Regions from separate parts of the Homo sapiens genome. Here region 2 is linked to region 1. The links are contacts of gene promoters, found by promoter capture Hi-C in blood cells and fetal thymus (Javierre and others, 2016). All regions are on one chromosome and are shown on one strand. The core of a region is centred on a gene start or on the middle of the fragment in contact, and the rest is flanking DNA. Distances in the headings are between cores, read along the strand shown. Region 1 holds the start of MARVELD2 (MARVEL domain containing 2). Region 2 overlaps OCLN (occludin).

Evidence for each region. Contacts are between HindIII fragments. The CHiCAGO score rates a contact against its expected background, and 5 or more counts as called.
Region 2: a contact is called between a fragment that was not itself captured here and the fragment with the promoter of MARVELD2 in region 1, in 1 of 17 cell types (neutrophils). The highest score is 5.3, in neutrophils.

What each region holds. Positions count from the first base shown.
Region 1 is chr5:69,413,267-69,416,596 of GRCh38, reverse strand. MARVELD2 (MARVEL domain containing 2) reads right to left here and starts at 1,481. Exons shown (of 7, transcript NM_001038603.3): 1 at 1,427-1,481. RAD17 (RAD17 checkpoint clamp loader component) reads right to left here. Exons shown (of 19, transcript NM_133338.3): 19 at 1,796-2,566. The coding sequence ends at 2,305. RefSeq lists enhancers at 1-820, 821-1,704. The HindIII fragment of the contact is 19,290 bases long and covers 1-3,330 here.
Region 2 is chr5:69,498,348-69,501,677 of GRCh38, reverse strand. The region is part of intron 1 of OCLN (occludin); the gene reads right to left. Among named protein-coding and RNA genes, the nearest start is that of OCLN, 7.2 kb to the right of the region's middle. RefSeq lists an enhancer at 1,347-1,896. The HindIII fragment of the contact is 5,611 bases long and covers 1-3,330 here.

The DNA of each region.
Region 1 (3,330 bases), core at 232-2,731:
CCTCTGAAGTAAACCCCAGACATCTGATCATTTTATCTATCTATACCTCATTCTCCACCCCTCCAGCTTAGCCTTGGGGAGCAGCAGACTGAAGAGTGTTTCAGATGCGTTAAAAATCCAGGTAGAGACGTTAAGAGGGCAAGCAAGGCACACAGGGTATGTACAGACTGGAGACAAGGGAATGCGGTGGAAACCCAGGGTCTTCTAATAGGGCACTCCGACCTTAGAGGATTAACTGTGATGGCCCCAGCAGGGTGCCCAATGCAAAGCGGCTCTGTATATTATAACAATCAGTTATTTTTGTACCTTTCTCTTTCTTTCTCTAAAAAAGTGTAAGTTCTAGAAATGCTATTACGACTCTAGTTTTTGAAACACATTCCTAAGAAATGTAGAAGCAAAAGCACAACAAATGATTTTAGCAAGTTTTACACAGCATTTACAGGATACGCTATGCTTAATTCAACTCACTGGTAAAAATACGATTCACTGTAATGGATTTAACTCTTCACCTGTGAAGTGGCTTATTTGAATCAAACCACCCTATCCATTTTTAAAGAAAAAACAAGCAATTATTAAAGAGTTGTGGAAAAGCAAGATAATGTGATTTTTAGAAGGGAATGGTTAGCTGTATTTCATTACATCTTAAATATCTGGATACCCCTAATGTCTTTCAAGATGTCACTGAGAGTTCGTTCTGGTCCCGCAGGTCGCGGCAGCGTGTGTCTTTGTCCTGCTCAGGCCCCGGACCCTTACTCCACTCTTGGACACTCATCTTGGAAAGCCGCGGCAATGGCAGGAGAAATGGCTGCCCCAGCAAAGTGTCACAGGAATCATGCCTGGTCACCTTTACACAAACAGAACCACCGGTTTACCTGGCTTAAAAGTTTTGCTGGACCCAAGAAACGGGTAGATTTCGGATACTTCTGCGCTTCCGAGGGGTCGGGAAAGGCTCTGCGGTTCTAACTAACCCACGACTGCCCGGGGGTACCGAGCATTTTAGCTGTGGGGTCTCCCCCGCGCCAGCCTCTGGGCGCCCGGTCCCACAAATCTCATTGTGTCCTCGGTTCTGCCCGCGCCGGCTAGGCGTTCGTCTTCGCGTTTCTGGCTGAAACCCACTGTCTTTGGAGATTCCGACCCAACGAGGCCGAAACTAAGCCGGGAGACCTCCCAGGTAAGGAGCACCGAGATCGCCCCGAGGTGCGCGCCCCGCCCCGCGCCCGGAAGGACGGCGGCTCGGCCGCACCTGCGTCCGCAGAGCGAAACCTGGCGGGACGCGGGCCTCCCCGGATCCCTGGCTCCGGCCTCCCCCGCGGGCTATGGCAGGCTGAGCGCCGAGCGCGGGCAGCCGTCCGTCGCAGCACACCTGGGCCGGGGGCCGCCGGGCCCTCCTCTCCCGGTCACGTGGCCCCACCCCGGTCCCACTTACCTGCGCAGCCGCCAGGAAGAGCGCGCACGCTGCCCAGGACTCTGAAACCGGTATCGGGCTCCCGGGGTGGGGGCGGGGCCGGGACGGGACGAGCCCAGCTTTCCCCGCCCGGCTTTGCCCCGCCCGGATCTGTCGGCCCGACAACCGCTCTGGGCCCAGGCTGCTCGGTGCCACCAGCCGGCACGTCGCGGCAATGACCACACACTGGGCTCTTTTGGAAAGAGTTTACAGTTCTCATCGCAACGTTGCCATCCTCTTCCCTATCTTTTGAAAAGTTTGACACTGGGGGAGGGAGATTGGTGCACTGTGCTTAAGGACCCATGGCAGCGAGTGCGTGCTAGATAATGTTAAAAGACAGGAGAAACAAAATTAAATTCAACATTTTAATTGTGATATAACTTATGTAAATACTTTCCAAAAAGTATCTAAGATATTCCACTGTACAACACATCAAAACTATCTGAGAAGCGGGAGACAATAAAGTGTAAATAAGGCACACAGTTTACACTCGTAATTGCATCCTAAACTGTTGAATAGTTGATATTTACAACCCCCCAATAACGTTTTTGCATCCTGAATTAGTCCTTCACATCTTGATATTTGGCATAATGTTCAAACACACTTTATACACACTGACCGCTCCTTAAACCACTCACAGATTTAATAAATACCGAAAAAATTAAGAGATTTGAAGGCTTGATCTTCTATTTACTTCAAGATGACAGAAGAGTAGGTTTCTTGTGATGAAATACTACAAGAATGAAGAATTAACAAACTGTTGTGTAATTCATCAGAAAAGCATATTAACTCTGCTGAAGTACCACTGAATGAAACAAAAATGAAGCTGTGAAGTAGCAATCTGATTAGCAGGCTGGCTTCTATGTCCCATCACTCTCGTAGTCTTCTATTATTATGTTTTCTTCCATGTCTCCTTGGGCTGAAAAGGGCTGGGGCTGGCTAGCAGGCAGTTCACTGGCACTATTCTGACTCAAAGGAAGAGACCAGGTTTCCGGCACAGTGGCTTGAGTGGGTTCACCCAGAGATTCCTCTGCAGAATGTCCTCCATTAAGCTGGGCTTCATCTCCGCTGTCAGGGTCTATCATTCCATGTTCCCTGTCAGTCAGGGCTTCCATTTTCAATCTGTCAGATTCACAGTGCAGGCATTAATAAGAACCAAAGGAGAAGATTTTTAAATTACACCATGAGTGTGATGATTATGAAGCCATCTTTCATTTACCTACATTGTGCTGTTTAGCTAGTCCCTTTAACTATAAAAACAAAACTACAAGGTAAATGACAAACTGAATAAGTTCCTACAACTTAAAATACAAAAAGGAGCTGAACACGATGGCTCATGCCTGTACTATCTGCACTGTGGGAGGCCAAGGCAGGCAGATCACTTGAGGCCAGGAGTTCAAGACCAGCCTGGCCAACATGGCAAAAACCCATCTCTATTGAAAATAGAAAAATTAGCCAGGCGTGGTGGCACGCATCTGTAATCCCAGCTACTCAGGAGGCTGAGGCAGGAGAATTGTTTGAACCCAGGAGGCAGAAGCTGCAGTGAGCCAAGCTCGTGCCACTGAACTCCAGCCTGTACGACAGAGCAAGACTCTGTCTCCAAACAAAAAACAAACAAACAAAAAAACCAAACCAAACCACAACAACAAAAACACCTAAAAATAAAAAGAAATAATGTCTTCAGTAAAGAATTTTTCTTTTTTCTTTTTTTTCATTGAGACTGTCTTTCTCTATCGCCCAGGCAGGAGTGCAGTGGTGCAATCTCAGTTTACTGCAACCTCTGCCTCCCAGGTTCAAGCGATTCTCCTGCCTCAGCCTCCCAAGTAGCTGGGATTACAGGCACATGCCATCATGCCCAACTAATTTGTATTTTTAGTAGAGATGGG
Region 2 (3,330 bases), core at 504-3,003, 85 kb before region 1:
CTGTAACTAGCACTCAAGTCAATTTCTCTATACTTTTTTTTTTTTTCTTTTGAGACAAGGTCTCATTCTGTTGCCCAGGATGAAATGCAGTGCCATCATCTCAGCTCACTACAACCTGCCTCCCAGGCTCAAGCAATCCTCCTGCCTCAGCCTCACAAGTAGCTGGACTACAGGCACATGCCACCACGCCTGGCTAATTTTTGTATTTTTAGTAGAGATAAGGTTTCACCATGTTGCCCAGGCTGGTCTCAAACCCCTGAGCTCAAGCTATCCACCTGCCTTGGCCTCCCAAAGTACTGGGATTACAGGCATGAGCCAATACACCTGGCCAATTTCTCTATATTCTAGTAATGGTGAAACACACATACAAATGAGCAATTTAGGCGAAAATGTTATGGTACTATAAAAAGGCAAAAGTCCAGATTGTCTTCAGAAAAAGAACATTAAGGAATACTGAATTTAGGCCAGGTGAGGTGGCTCACACCTGTAATTCCAGCACTTGGGAGGTGGAGACAGGTGGATCACCCTAGGTCAGGAGTTCGAGACCAGCCTGGCCATCATGGCAAAACCCCGTCTCTACTAAAAATACAAAAATTAGCTGGGCATGGTGGCACGTGCCTGTAATCCCAGCTACTTGAGAAACTGAGGCATGAGAATCGCTTGAGCCCGAGGTGGAGGTTGCAGTGAGCCAAGATTGTGCCACTGCACTCCAGCGTGGGTGACAGAGCAAGACTCCTTTAAAAAAAAAAAGTAAAACAGAAAATCTGAAGTTAAGCACTATTAAATGTGGGATCCTAGTTCTGAAGCTGAATGTCAAATATCCCCAAATTCTAGGTTCAGTGGTAGTTTTGGAAACTCTAAATTAATCCAGACTCAGTCTTAAGTTGTCAAAAATTCAAACAAGATCCCTTTTCAAACTGCTATTTCCAGGATTCAGAGTTGTCACGTCTCCCCAAAAGCACGGATTTTAAATTGTGAACCAAATCATGTGGCTCATGCCTGTAATCCCAGCACTTTGGGAGGCCGAGGCAGGTGGATCACATGAGGTCTGGAGTTCAAGACCAGCTGACCAATGTGGTGAAACCCTATCTCTACTAAAAATACAAAAAATTAGAGGGGCGTGGTGGTGCATGCCTGTAAACCCAGCTACTTGGGAGGCTGAGGTAGCAGAATTGCTTGAACCTGGGAGGCGGAGTTCGCAGTGAGCCAGTATTGCGCCATTGCACTCCAGCCTGGGCAAAAAGAGCAAAACTCCGTCTCAAAAAAAAAAAAAAGAAAAGAAAGCTCGTTAAGAACAAGTCATGCCACACCAACTTCATTTCCTTTTCTGGGAAGGTTACCAAACTGGTGGATTTTATTTTCTCCTTTATTATTTCCTCTTCAGGGAATGCAGAGAGAAAGAATCCTGAAAATCTTGAGCACATCCTTGTGTGGGTGGGCAGATTCCCAAGGGGCTGGATTACGGCACCCAATTAGCACAAAAGAATGAACCATTTATGTCCACCTGGTGGGAGGTCTCCACTGGTAAACACAGACAAAGTGGAGGAGACACGCTTATCCAGATTTGCAGCTGACCAAACACACTGGAAAGGATAACTAACCCATTGGCTAGGGCCATCAACACTAAGCAAGATCTCTGTAATGTCAGAATGATGAGTTTGAAACAACCTAGTGGTTTTAACAGCCCCCATTTACTGGCTCGCAATCTGAGACAAATTCCTTATCTCCTCTAAGTGCACTCAAATGCGGGAATAATCCTGACCTCTGCACTGGGATAAGAAAAAGTCTTAAAGAGCTGGGCGCAGTGGTTCACGCCTGTGATCCCAGCACTTTGGGAGGCCGAGGCGGGTGGATCACGAGGTCAAGAGATCAAGACCATCCTGGTCAACATAGTGAAACCCTGTCTCTACTAAAAAAATACAAAAATTAGCTGGGCTTGGTGGCGCGCGCCTGTAGCCCCAGCTACTCAGGAGGCTGAGGCAGGAGAATCGCTTGAATCCAGGAGGAGGAGGTTGCAGTGAGCTGAGGTCACGCCACTGCACTCCAGCCTGGCGACGGAGCGAGACTCCGGCTCAAAAAAAAAAGAAAGAAAAAAACCACAAGAAAAAGTCTTCAAGAAAATGGGCAACTGCATTCATCATAAGGTGGTTATCCTGAAAGTAAGAAATTTCAGTGCTTAGGCACTTAGGTATATTGTATCCATTTTCAAATACAGCTGACCCTCCACATCCATGGGTTTTAAATTCTGATTCAACCAACCTCAGACAGAAAATATTCAGGGGAAAAAAAAATTAAAAATTACAGGGCAGGTACAGTGGCTCACACCTGTAATCCCAACACTCTAGGAAGCTGAAGCAGGAAGATCACTTGAACCCAGGAGTCCAAGACTGACCACAGCAACATAGTAAGACCCCATCTCCACAAAAAATTTTTCTTAAAATTAGCCAGGCATGGTGGCACATCCCTGTAAGTTCCAGCTACTCAAGAGACTGAGATGGGAGGATCTCTTGAGCAGAGGAAGTTGAGGCTGGAGTGATCATGCCACTATACTCCAGCCTGAGTAACAGTAATACCCTGTCTAAAAAAATAATAAACAATAAAACAAAAAATAGATTTTTAAAACTACAATATCACAATTCTACATAGTATTTACATTGTATACGGTATTATAACTAGAGATTATTTAAAGTCTACAAGAGGTCTGGGTGCAGTGGCTCACACCTGTAATTCCAGCTCTTTGGGAGCCCAAGACGGGCGGATCACTTGAGGTCAGGAGTTCGAGACCAGCCTGGCCAACATGGTGAAACCCTGTCTCTACTAAAAATACAAAAATTAACTGGGATTGTGCCGGGTGCCTGTAATCCCAGCTACTCAGGAGGCTGAGGCAGGAGAATCGCTTGAGCCCAGGAGGCAGAGTTTGCAGTGGGCCAAAATTGCATCACTGCACTCCAGCCTAGATGATGGAGTGAGATTCTGTCTCAAAAAAACAATTAAAAAAAAAAGTATACAAGAGCATTTAGGCCATATGCAAATACAAAGCTATTTTATAACAAGGACTTCAGCATCCTCAGATTTTAGTATCATGGGGGTCCTGGAAGCAACCTCTCACAGATACTGAAGGGTGACTATATTGGTGGCATAAATGAGTCATTTTTAAAATGTAAACTGATTTTTTTTTTTTTTGAGACAGGAGTCTTGCTCTGTCATCCAGCCTGGAATGCAATGGCGTGATCTCGGCTCAATGCAACCTCCACCTCCCAGGTTCAAGCAATTCTCCCACCTCAGCCTCCTGAGTAGCTGAGATTACTGGCACATGCCACCAGGCCAGGC